Regions from separate parts of the Homo sapiens genome. Here all the other regions are linked to region 2. The links are contacts of gene promoters, found by promoter capture Hi-C in blood cells and fetal thymus (Javierre and others, 2016). All regions are on one chromosome and are shown on one strand. Each heading gives the region's core, a stretch centred on a gene start or on the middle of the fragment in contact. The rest is flanking DNA. Distances are from core to core; before and after follow the strand shown.

Region 1 (3,703 bases), core at 656-3,155, 380 kb after region 2:
AGGGGCCTTGAAGTGAGGAATGTAGGAGCTCTCTGAGCTGAGAGTGGCCCCTGGCTGACAGCTGACCAGGAAATGGGCACCTCAGTCCTACAGCCACAGGGAACTGAATTCTACCAACAGCCCAAATGAGCTTGGAAGAGGATCCCTTCCAAAGCCTCCAGATAAGATCCAGCCCTGGGATGCCTTGATTGCAGCCTTGGGAGACCCTGAGCAGTGCAGGCATCCACGCCAGGCTGGAGTTCTTAAGTACAGAACTGTGAGCTAATAAATAGATGTGGTTGTAAGCCGCTCAGTTCGTAGTAATATATACACACTATAAAACAAACACAGGAGGGCTTGGCCATGTGGCGATGGGGAGCAGAAGTTGAAATGATGGAGCCCTGTGAGCAATGGCTCCTGGAGGCCCAGCAGGTTATGGAGCAGAGGAAAGGGGGAGGCAAGGGCACACGCACAGACAGCCGGAGTGCCAGGCTAAGGAGCAGGACGTTACTTATGGTCACTGGGGAGCTACTGAAGATTTTGAGAGAGGGGGGCACCAGAGGTGGGCCCTGGATGGAGTGTCCCCAGCTTGCCTGACCAGCCAATTTTTAGCATTACCACAGGCCCACTTCTCCGAAATATCTCAGGGAAGGGGCTAGGAATCTGAATGTTTAATCAACACCCAGGTGGCTCCAGAGATCAAGCACAATTGGCAAATGATAGTTCTGGCAAACGTGTAAACTGCAGAAAGTTCCGTGGGAAGGTCCACACCCCAAGTCCTCTCAGTGTACACCCTGAGCCCCTAGGGGGTTCCCAGCCCTTGCCAAGGGAGGTGGAGGGCTCCTAGGGGAGAAGCAGTCCCTCCCAGGAGGGACAGAGTCCCCACTGGGGATGGGGAGCAGGGGCCACCTGGGGAGGAGGCTGCGGGCGTCAGATGATTTCCAGCAGGAGCCTGTGTGTGCCCACCAGGACCCCTCATCCAGAGAAGGGCAGACAGAGCTCTGGCATTTCTGGAGGGAGAATGAGGAGCCCCCAAAGGCAAATCCAGGAGCTTGACCCAATTCAGGGCAGAAGCTAAGGGATATCCAAGAGCCCAGGGAGCAGAAGGAGGGGGTGAGCACCAGTGACGGCAGTGGCTGCTCCAAGATGGCCTCCCACTGCCATCACACAGACTGCAGCAGGGAGGCATGGCCAGGGCCGCATACTCCATGGAGCAGGCCGGAGCCCCACCCTCCTAGGTGGGGCTGCAGCCGCCCAAATTGTGGCTGCAGATCTGAGCATCCCTGTGCTCTTGGGACAGGAGCAGGCAAGAGCCCTACCCTCCCAGGCACAGCTGCAGCCACCAAAACTGTAGCTGCAGACTCAGGAATTTCTGCACTCAGGGACCTGGGAAGGCCCCCACTGCCCTTGCAGGCTTGGAAGTGCCTGTTCCCACTGCCTGGCTTTTCCCTGCCGTCAGTGCCTGCTTTGATCTCAAAGCAAAGTCAGGGCCAAGCCCTGGTGCCATGAATGGCAGCAGGAGGCAGGCACATTCCTGGGAGGAAGGGGACGGGTCCCCCGTGAGGCTCCACCTTTAGGGCCAGGGAGGGCCTGAAGGCTGGAGGCTGGGCTTCCAGTCCCACCAACCTGAATGGGAATTTGTGGTGCCTTTTCTGGGCCTGCCCATGGCTACCCATGGACCAATCTGCATGCACTTTCTCCCCTCTGAGGCCCATAAAAACCCTGGGCTCAGCCAGAGCTGAGCAGATTACAAGTTGATCAGCTGCTGAGAGGAGCTACCCTCTCTGCTGAGAGCTTCAGAGACCTGAGGAGATGTCAGAATAACCTGCCTGCAGAGAGGCACTACCCTCTCTGGGGCTTCCTCTCTGCGGAGAGCTGAACACTCGATGGGACAACCTGCCTAGAAAGAGGAGCTACCCACTGCAGGTCTCCTCTGAGCTGTTCTAATACTCAATAAAGCTCCTCTTTGTCTTGCTTACCCTCTACTTGTCTGCATACCTCATTCTTCCTGGATGCAGGACAAAAACTCAGGCAAAGACGCCACTGGTCACAGAGGTTTCCAGCTAAAAAGACGACACCCAAAAGATCCTGTAACACCAGGAGCTAGCATGGGTTCACTGGGAATGAAATGTGTAGGCTCCCTGTGACTTCTGACCTCTGTGAGGGTCATGAACCCAGGAGGTGAGGCATTTGACAGGGAGGCTCGGGACTGCCTCATAGACAAACTCACATCACATCTTCTATGTTAAAACAAATGCTCTGTGTCTCTAACAAAAGTCCTCTCCAGGACCAGGAGAGCTGAGGTCAGGCTGCCCAGCACATCCAGCTGCACCTTGACCAAAACTCCAGGCTGCCTGAGCCTGGCAGTCAGCCGAGAGAGGAGGTGATGAGGGCCAGGTGTGCTGAGTGAGGCTGAGGCAGGGGCGAGCCCCCATCTCTGCAGATGAGGATCTGGAGTCCAGGTGAGGCCTGGTCTGCGCTTGTCCATGAACCCCTTCCTCGGTAGGAGAGCCAAGGACCTGAGTCTGGAGAGGGATGCTCCTGGCCCTCCCTGACCCCAACATACAATCACTCCTCGCCTGTGGCAACCGACCAGCACCGCCCTGATGGGGCAGCTCCAGGACCCTGGCTAAGCTGGGTTTGCTGGTGGGCAAAAGCAATGTGCCCTGGGCAGTCCTTTACCTCCTCCTTCCATGAGGGTCACTTTGACCTCCACCCTGCACTGATGACTGCTGGTGGAAGATCCAGGTTTGAGCTTTGAGGGAGGAGGAGGGAAGGCCCTTTCCAGTGCCTCCCACCACAGAATGAAGAGTCCTTTGATTTCCTGCTTGAGTCCCCCATGGGGAGAAGATGGATGCCCAAGGCTGAATCTGAGCCTTCCAGAGTTCCCTGCATAAAGCCCACCCTCTAAAAGTGCCACGACCCAGTGGGACTAACCTAGCACATGATGCCAGAGTGCCCAGCACCCAGGGCTGAGGCTGGGTTAGGCCACAAAGGCCACCGAAAGCCAGGCCACCATTTGGACCTCATCCTTCTAGGCAAGGGCCCGACACCGAGCACTCAGCTGCCTGTCTCCGCTGGGGCTTCTTGTGGCTGCACCATGGGCATTCAGGGCAGGATCGTTCCCTGTGGTGGGGACCGTCTGTGCCCGGTAGGATGTTCAGCAGCGTCTCTGGCCTCTGCCCACTAGACGCTTTTAGCACACAGCATCCCCTGAGGTATGACAACAAAACGTATCCCCAGACATTGCCAAATGTCTCCCGGGGAGCAGAATTGGCTCCAGTTGAGAACCACTGGTCTAAGATATGAGCGTTGGACTTTTTGGTGTGGAGGACCCAGATTCTATTCATCCTGTTTCGTGGACACCCCCAGGACAGGGACCGGGTGGCCAGGCTTAAGCTGAGCCACAGGCACATCTGAGCTCCTGCTTGCAGGAATCAGAACAGCCCAAATAAACAATTTCGTTTTAAGCAAACCTGCAGCCACGATCCTACCTGTCAGGGTGATCTCCTGAAAGTCATGGGGTGTCTGTTTTAGTCTTGGGCACCAAGAGTCACAGCCCCAGGGCTGACCACTGATGGCATCGACGCCTGGAAACTGGCCTGCTTCCCCCACACCACACAGGACCCATGAACGACCAAGAACCACTGATCTGGTCTGAACCTCTTGCTTTAAGGGTGGGAAGGCCGAGACCCAGGGAGGCTGCCAGGGTCACACAGTCATC
Region 2 (4,075 bases), core at 1,461-3,960:
AGAGTCCTGCCTCAGAGAGCCTGCCGTCTGGAGCAGAAGAGGGCAGGAGGGGCCCGCAAGTAAGCGGTGAGGGCGCCAGGTTGAGGAGCCCAGGGGAATAGAGGGAGTCCTGACCCTATCTGATTCAGAATCAGGGAGGCAAAGGCAGACCTCTCTCGGCAGGGCTAGCAGGGCGAGTCACTGCCATCGTCCGAGCTTCAGTTTCCACATCTGCAAAGTGGAGATTCCCAGATGGCAGTGAGGAGCGCTGGAGAGCATGAGTGCAAGAGGGCTTTGTGCATTGCAAAGTGCTGCATCCGTGTGTGACGGCTTATTATCATTAACCGTTAAAAGCAGCGATGACGGTGATGACGATAATGGTTGCCACTGTCAATCGAGCCACATGAACGCGCTCTGGAAGCTTGGCATCTTTTCAATCCGGCATTTCCTTTTCTTAATCATCCTGGAGAGACTTGGTAGACAGTTGTGTAAATTACCCACCAGCTTAACTCTTCATATTTCATATCATGCTATGGGTTGGGCACCTGATGGACCCATAAGTATCTCATTATACTTGCAAAGTAATTACTGTCAGAGCCTCGCATCAGCGGCATTAAGGGACCAGCTAATGGGAGCTGGAGGTGCCTCTGAGTTCCTCCACAACAGTGATTCCTTCTTAATTGTAGCCTTAGAACAAGATAACTGAGGGACATTGCTAAAGGCAAAGCAGTTTATAAGCAGCATGAGACAGCAAAACACACAGAGACACCAAGTTGAATCCTTCTTGTTGATCTGGTAGAAGAAACTTGGAGGGAAGGTCCCAGAAGGTGTCATAGAGTGGTATTCGACCAGAAAGCTGCCTGTTTTTTTTTTTTATTCCTAAGGGACATCTATTCTACTGTACAGAGGAAGTCTGTGGCATGTGTCAGAAGTGCCTGGGCTGCCCAGGGTCCTAGCAGGACCCGTTTTAACATGCAGGTGGGCATTGAGTGGAGGGTGCCAGGGCCCACCCAGCCAACCCAGCCAAGCCAGCCAACTAGAATTCGAGGAGGTAAGCCAGCTTTTCCAAAGTTCTCAAGTTTGTCCAGGTGAAAAAACACCTGGAAATCAAGGGTTTTTTTCCTAATATTGTAACATGAAAATTTTCAAATATACAGCCGAGTTGAAGGAATTTTACAGTGAATACCAGGGCACCTTCCACCTAGATTCTGCCACTGACATTTTATGAGATTCAGTTGCATTTTGAAGAAATGACAATATGATGAATTAATAAATACAAATAAGAAACTTACAGTTTCTTGTAGGCTTGCGCTCAAATCCAGCCACTTACTAGCTGTGTGTCCTTGGGCACATTGCTTAATGTCTCAGAGCCTTGGTTTTCTCTACAACGAAATGAAAATAAGGACACATACTTCACAGGAGTGATTGTTAGGATGAAAGGGGATGATTACGTAAAACAGTGCAAGAACTGCTACACAGGAGGTCCTCCATAAATAGTACTGTCATGACACACACACCCGAAAGGATAGTCTTTATTCAGTTAGATGCCACATTTTATTAAAGTCTTGTGTGGACAAGAAGTGAAACCTCAGAGGAATTTATGAAGAATAATTGGAGGCACTTCCTTGTGACTTGGCTTCATCCGGACCGGATGACTTCTGGGTGCCAGCAACAGTTCCCCATTTCCATTCACGTTTCCCCACATCGTTCATGCCAAAGAGATGGGTGCCAAGAGGCCATCCGTCTTCATCCTGGACATAGAATGAGACGGGAACTCACTCTTGAAGGACTTTTGAAGTCTCAGAGAAGAAACGGAGCCACCGTAGACCTTTTGAAATACGGCCTGTGAGAAGCACGGTGACAGTCACCATTACTACCAATAATCACATTACTCTTTGTGGGAAAAAAGACCTACTATGTGCCAGGAAGGCTTCGGTAATCATCTCCAACACACACACATTCTCTCACACACACATGTGCGCATGTGTGCACACACACACACACCACACACACACACACACACACTCCGCAGCCCTTCTGCCATGCCCAGCTCAGGGCCATCTTCTCCCACAAGGATGCCGGTCTCATCTCCTGAAATGAGGTTGCAGTGAGCCGAGATTGAGCCACTGCACTCCAGCCTGGGTGACAGAGCGAGACTCCATATAACCTCTGCCTCCTGGGTTCAAGAAACTCTTGTGCCTCAGCCTCCCAAGTAGCTGGGATTACAAGCGCGTACCACCACACCCAGCTAATATTTTTTGTATTTTTTAGTAGAGACAGGGTTTCGTCATGTTGGCCAGGCTGGTCTCGAACTCCCAACCTCAGGTGATCTGCCTGCCTCAGCCTCCCAAAGTGCTGGGATTACAGGCATGAGCCACCGCGCCCGGCCTGATCTCAGTCTTTAAGAGAGCAGCAGCTCATCTGTGGCCACTGCTTCCCAGGGACTTGCCAGAAGGGAGGTGCAGGGCACAGGGAAATAACCCACCTCTATCTGACGGCTTCAATGGTATCGAATGTCCTCAGTGGCAGCACGCAGCACAGAAGCTGAGGTGTGGCTGCATTCCATTTGGAGAATTCCACTGTGATTCATGGTGTCAGCTGCGGGTTCAAGGTGTCACAATTTAATTATTAAACATCATGAGGCATTAGGAGGCTTGGGCACGCACTGATAAGTGATCCATTTCTAACACAGCTGGTTTATTACTGTTTGTGGCAGCTCCTGCACGAATTGGTGTCCGTTAACTAAGCAATGGTATTATAATTACACATTTAAATTATGTATGGGAAGGGTGTCAGTGGTAGAAGTCAGACTGCAGTGATTACTTTCAGTCTTCAGACCTCCTGGATGTAGTCTCTCTGCAGATAGCTGTAACTCTGGCTTGTTTTCTGCTCATTTTCTGCAGACATGTAGAATCCACTGCTAGGGTCCACTGAGCTGTCTTCTGGGTGGTTTTTGGTGCTGCAGGAGATAAACACATGTGTCTTCCTGGTTGGACCCAGTTGATGCACTAACCTAATTCTGTCCTTTGCCTGCCCTGATCTCCATAGCCTGCTTCTTCCTGGAAATTTGCTGCTGCTGCTGCTTCTTTTTTTTTTTTTTTTTTTTGAGACAGGGTCTCGCTCTGTCGCCCAGGCTGGAGTGCAGTGGCGTGATCTCAGCTCACTGCAGTCTCTGCCTCCCGGGGGTTCAAACCATTCTCTCTGCCTCAGCCTCCTGTGTAGTGTGGATTACAGGCACCCCCCACCATGCCCAGCTAATTTTTGTATTTTTAGTAGAGATGGGTTTTCACCGTGTTGGCCAGGCTGGTCTCGAACTCCTGACCTCAGGTGATCCACCCGCCTCGGCCTCCCAAAGTGCTGGGTCTACAGGCGTGAGCCACCGCGCCCGGCCGGAAATGTGCTTCTTTAGAGGAAAGCACCGTTGATCCCACCTCCTTGATCTGGTTTCTAAGACCTCATACAAACTGGGCCCGTTAGTCTTTGCTCCCTGATACTATCTGATACCATCTGGTCTCACTCCTTCCTTCCCATCTTGTTCATTCATTGGTTCACTCATTCATTCACTCACTTCACGCCCTCCCTCTGGTGAATCAGTTCCCCTCTGTCCTCCCCACTCTGTCCAGTCCTCCCCTAGGCTGCCAGGTTACATTTCCAAAACTCCGATCTGATCAGGCCCTCTTGGTCTCAGATCCTCCAAGGGCTTCCTTCAAGGGCTCCTGCACCAACCTCGTGGTGTGGCTGTGTGACATAATAAGAAACATTCACTTCTATTTGGTCTCTTTCCGGGTTCCTGACACAAAGCTCCTAATCCCTTGTCTTTGGTTTAATGAGGTGACTCTCAGTGGCTCCTGGGTGGGGTTGGGGGCTGAGCACCAGAAAGACCCAGATTCGACGAGGAGCCTGGAGCTTTTGGCTCCACCCCCACCCTCCAGGAAAGGGAGAGGGGCTGGAGATTGAGCTAATAATCCATCACGCGTAAGTAATGAAGCCTCCGTAAAAATCCCTGAACTACAGGATCCAGAGAGCTTCTGGGCTGGTGGACACATCCGCATGCTGGGAGGGTGGCGCCCCCCAACTCCACGGGGACAGAAGCTCC
Region 3 (4,237 bases), core at 850-3,349, 260 kb after region 2:
GGCCCGGCCCAGTCCTCGACCCCCAGCACCTCCGCCGCCCGGCCTGGCCACCACCTCCGCTCCACGCGCCCAGGCCGCTCCCGTCGCGGGTCTCGGAGATTCTCCCGCGCCCAGGGGTGTCCCGCAGCCCCGGGCCTCAGCACCCAGCGCTCCCTTCTCCACGACGACAATGAGGCGGACCCTCCCCAGCGCCCTCCAGAGCTGTCGCATCCCGGGAGGTCAGGGCGAGTGTTGTTTGCATTTCACAGAGCAGGAAGCTTAGGCACAGACAGCGGCTCCCCGACCCTCGCTCGGCCTCTGCTGAGCAGGGAACGGCCTGAACGCGTCCGGCCAAGCGCCGCCTCCGGCCTCTGCCCGCGGCCCGGCGCGCCCTCCTCCCCAGCGCGCCCCTATCCTGCACGCATCCGCGGCCCCGGGCCCTTTCCGCAGCCCCACGCGGTCTCCTCCCGGGTTAAATCTATCCACTCGCGCGTTCCTTGGCAGCCGTGATCACAGGCGTGACCACGGTCCCCAAGCCCTCGCGCCTCCGTCCACGCTATTGCGGCCGCCCCTGCGCGCCTGTCCCCTCCCTGTCCCCTCCTTCCAGCTCTGGAAACAGCAGCACCGGAAGCCCCCTGCCCCAGACTCACTGCCCACCCCCGGCCGAGCTGGCTGCCAGCCGAGCCCCTTGGATCTCTGCGCCCCCCCGGGCCCCCCACCACTCCACAGCCCTGCGTGTCTCTGCTCTTTCTCAAAGTAAAGCCCTTCAAGTGCCATCCACTTGCGTCTCCCATTGGGATCCCCCTTCTCCCACCCCACAGCCCCTCCTCTGAAGCCTTTCATGTCCCTCAGTCTGGCTGCGACTCCTCCTTCTCCTGCCCTCCTGCTGGGTTCCCTGCCTTCCCCACTGGCGGCTTCTCCCCTGTGCTCTCCACCGGGTTTCTCTCTTCTACATTCCCTGGAAACCCATCCAGTTCTTCAGACACAATAATTCTCCTATGACCCCCAAATATGTGCAGCCTGGACGGTGCCCTGAGCTCCAGACTCCTACATCCAACTCCAGGCCAAGCCGGATGCCTCGCCTGGCACCCGCCCCAGCCCAGACCTGTCCCCGCCCGCAACTTCCCAAACTCAGAAAATGACAACTCCTTTCCTCCCTTTTCTCCCCACGCAAACTTTACACTTGTCCCTGACTCCCCTCTTTCTCTCCAGTCTCACGTTTATTCCGTCAGAAAATCCCATGGCTCTCCCTTCCAGACATGGCCAGAACCCGGCCTCCCGGGCTAAGCCAAGGCAAGCTGCCTTTGCTCTTCCTGATGGTCACGGCTGCACCTTCCCTGGGCTCCCTGCCCCTGGTGTGGCCACCATAAGTCCCCACCCATCATCCTTTCTGAACCTAAGTCAAATCACATCATTCTTCTGCCAAAACCCTCCAAAGACTCTCAGCTTGCTCAGCGCACAGCCCGGTGCTCCTGGAGCCCACAGAAGGGGCACTGCCCTGGCTTCCCCTTCTGCCGCCGCGGCCGCTGAGGTGCTCCTCACTCAGACAAAGCTTCCTCCTGCTTCAGGCCCAAGGCACCAGAAGCTTCCTTCACCCGGACGCTCCTCCCTCAGACATCTGCCACCTCATTCCCACACCTCCTCCCAGTCTGCTAAAATGTCACCTTCTCCATGAAATTGCACCTGCAGCCTCCTTCCTGCAGTGGCCTGTCTCCCCTGCCCTGCCTCCCGGTTGTCTTGGACTTGCAGCCATCTGGCTGGCCCAGGGTCTATTAAATGCACTATCTGGCTCACAAGGGTAGTATGTGGGTCCCTTTGCTCACCACTGCATCCCTGTGCCTTGGGCAGCCCTGGCACATGCCAGGTGCCTGGCAAGCAGCTGCTGAGTGAATAGCACATGGACGGCCCCGTGCTCCGTTCTCAGAAGCAGGAGTTGCAACAAGGTGGTCCCAGGGGCGAGTCTTCGTCAGTCCCAGGGCACTCCAGCCTTCCACTCCCACTGCATTTCATCCAGGGCCGGAGCGGGTGGTCCTGACCTCAGCGCCCTGGATGGCCAGAGGGTCAGCATCAAAGCCGGATTAGCTCCCCAGCTTAGCCCTGGCTGCCACATTCTTGTGACAGTTGTAGAACTGGAGAGCATCGGCGGGCCCAGTCTCAGCCTTGGACTCGGAGCTCTGGGAGTCCCTGCTACCACACATGCTCACACTCACACGTGCACACTTGCGCGCGCACACACACACACACACACACTTGCTAGTGCTGCCACCGGTTATGGAGCCGGGGTCCTCAACTTTGCTAACAACTCCTTGCAGCCCAACAGGAGACTGAACCCTGGGCGGACCCTTCCTGTCAAGACCCTCTTGTGTAGCATCTCATTTGCAGGAAGGAGGACCTTGCCTGCCCAGAGGGCAACACGGCTTGCAGCCCCTGCTGCTGCCCACCCCAAGGGCAGGGCTGGCTCCACTGTGCCTGCTCAGCCATGGTGAGGGAGAGTTCCTCCTCCCAGACAAGCACCAGCCTCTCCCAAATAGAAAGGCTACAAGCGACCCTACTGGTCACCATGTAGACCAAACAAGGTAACCCTGGGAATGCTCAGAGCATAGTGGCTCTCAGGGACCAGGGTGGTAATGACCATGGCTGTAGTTAGCATAATTCCAAGCTTGGCTTGATGCAGCTTGAATCACAATCAACCCCTCAACTGGCTCTTATTTTGTTTTGCCCTCACCTGGGGAAATTTGTTCTCCCCCTTCTTCCTGGCGCGTGGCACCTTTGTCAGTCTCTTTCTCCAGTTCAAAGGGAAACTGCTCTCTGAACAGCAATCAGAACCACAAGCCAGGGGTTCCAGGCTCTCTCAGCCTTGGCATCGCAGAGATGGGGAACACCAGGCTTTTCGTCTGCATGAACAAAGCCGTGGGCATCCCACCAGGAGGTTGCGTCTGGCTTGCTTGCCTCTGTCCAGGGAACCTGGCCAGCCCTGGTACCTAGTAACCTGTGTCAAATCACATTTTATTCTCTTTCTGTAAGAATTATTGTCTGCAGTTTTCCCCATCACTACCACCACCAATCCATTATCCCTTCGGTGGAGTTGTAGTCAGGAGAGGGCTGACATTTGTCTGGCTTTGTGTGGCGGTCACGCGCCTTGCAAGTAGGAGGTGGCCAATCCTTGATTTAAAACGAGAGAGCACTTCTGCTTCTGGCCAAAATGGAGTAACAGGCTTCTTTACCACACCTGCAGCAACTGAAATAATCAGACAGAATACATGAGACAGTGGCTTCCAAGACCCCGACATCAGGCAAAATTAAATGCAGTGATCCCAGAGAGAAAGGAAACAAGCAAGGTGAGCCCCTCTAATTGCCCCACATTTCTGCCTTGAGAGAGGGAGATTTCTCCCCCGGCCATGGTGCAGGCAGGGGGAAGCCAGACAGATCCCAGAAGACTCCCAAGTTCCAGAGGTGGGGCTGGGAGTCCAGGAAGATCAAGGCAGCTGGAGTTCACTGGACAGAGTTTCAGAGAAAAGAGAGTTATGCAGGGAGGGAAGTGAGAGACGTGCAGGGGTGCCTTTCCAGTGTCCCCCAGAATACAGATCACTGCAAATATGGGAGGAAAATAATTGAGGCTTGTGGAGAGAATCATCCTAAAGGATTAAAAAGAACAGGCCGGGCACAGTGGCTCACGCCAGTTATCCCAACATTTTGGGAGGCTGAGGCAGGCAGATCACGAGGTCAGGAGATTGAGACCATCCTGGCCAACATGGTGAAACCCCATCTCTACTAAAAGTACAGGCCGGGCGTGGTGGCTCATGCCTGTAATCCCAGCACTTTGGGAGGCCGAGGCGGGAGGATCACGAGGTCAGGAGATCAAGGCCATCCTGGCTAACATGGTGAAACCCCGTCTCTACTAAAAATACAAAAAATTAGCTGGGCATGGTGGTGGGCACCTGTAGTTCCAGCTACTCGAGAGGCTGAGGCAGAAGGATGGCGTGAACCTGGGAGACAGAGCTTGCAGTGAGCCGAGATCACACCACCGCACTCCAGCCTGGGCGACAGAGCAAGACTCTGTCTCAAAAAAAAAAAAAAAGGTATAAAAAATTAGCCGGGCATGGTGGCAGGCGCCTATAGTCCCAGCTACTCGGGAGGCTGAGGCAGGAGAATCACTTGAACCCAGGAGGTGGAGGTTGCAGTGAGCTGAGATTGTGCCACTGCACTCCAGTCTGGCGACAGAGCGAAACTCCATCTCAAAAAAAAAAAAAAAAAAAAA

Evidence for each region. Contacts are between HindIII fragments. The CHiCAGO score rates a contact against its expected background, and 5 or more counts as called.
Region 1: a contact is called between a fragment that was not itself captured here and the fragment with the promoter of LINC01589 in region 2, in 9 of 17 cell types (M2 macrophages, M1 macrophages, endothelial precursors and 6 more). The highest score is 13.7, in M2 macrophages.
Region 3: a fragment that was not itself captured here is called in contact with the fragment with the promoter of LINC01589 in region 2 in 3 of 17 cell types (endothelial precursors, erythroblasts and megakaryocytes); the score reaches 9.1 in endothelial precursors.

Annotation. Positions count from the first base shown.
Region 1 is chr22:45,986,141-45,989,843 of GRCh38, forward strand. No RefSeq gene overlaps it. Among named protein-coding and RNA genes, the nearest start is that of WNT7B, 11 kb to the left of the region's middle. RefSeq lists enhancers at 720-1,220, 1,221-1,721. The HindIII fragment of the contact is 8,373 bases long and covers 1-3,703 here.
Region 2 is chr22:45,602,937-45,607,011 of GRCh38, forward strand. It overlaps LINC01589 (long intergenic non-protein coding RNA 1589), which reads right to left and starts at 2,711. Exons shown (of 2, transcript NR_131244.1): 1 at 2,465-2,711; 2 at 1,496-1,822. The HindIII fragment of the contact is 5,695 bases long and covers 399-4,075 here.
Region 3 is chr22:45,867,311-45,871,547 of GRCh38, forward strand. LOC105373071 reads left to right here. Exons shown (of 6, transcript XR_007068133.1): 1 at 1-3,317. Among named protein-coding and RNA genes, the nearest start is that of WNT7B, 110 kb to the right of the region's middle. RefSeq lists an enhancer at 33-607. The HindIII fragment of the contact is 1,074 bases long and covers 1,563-2,636 here.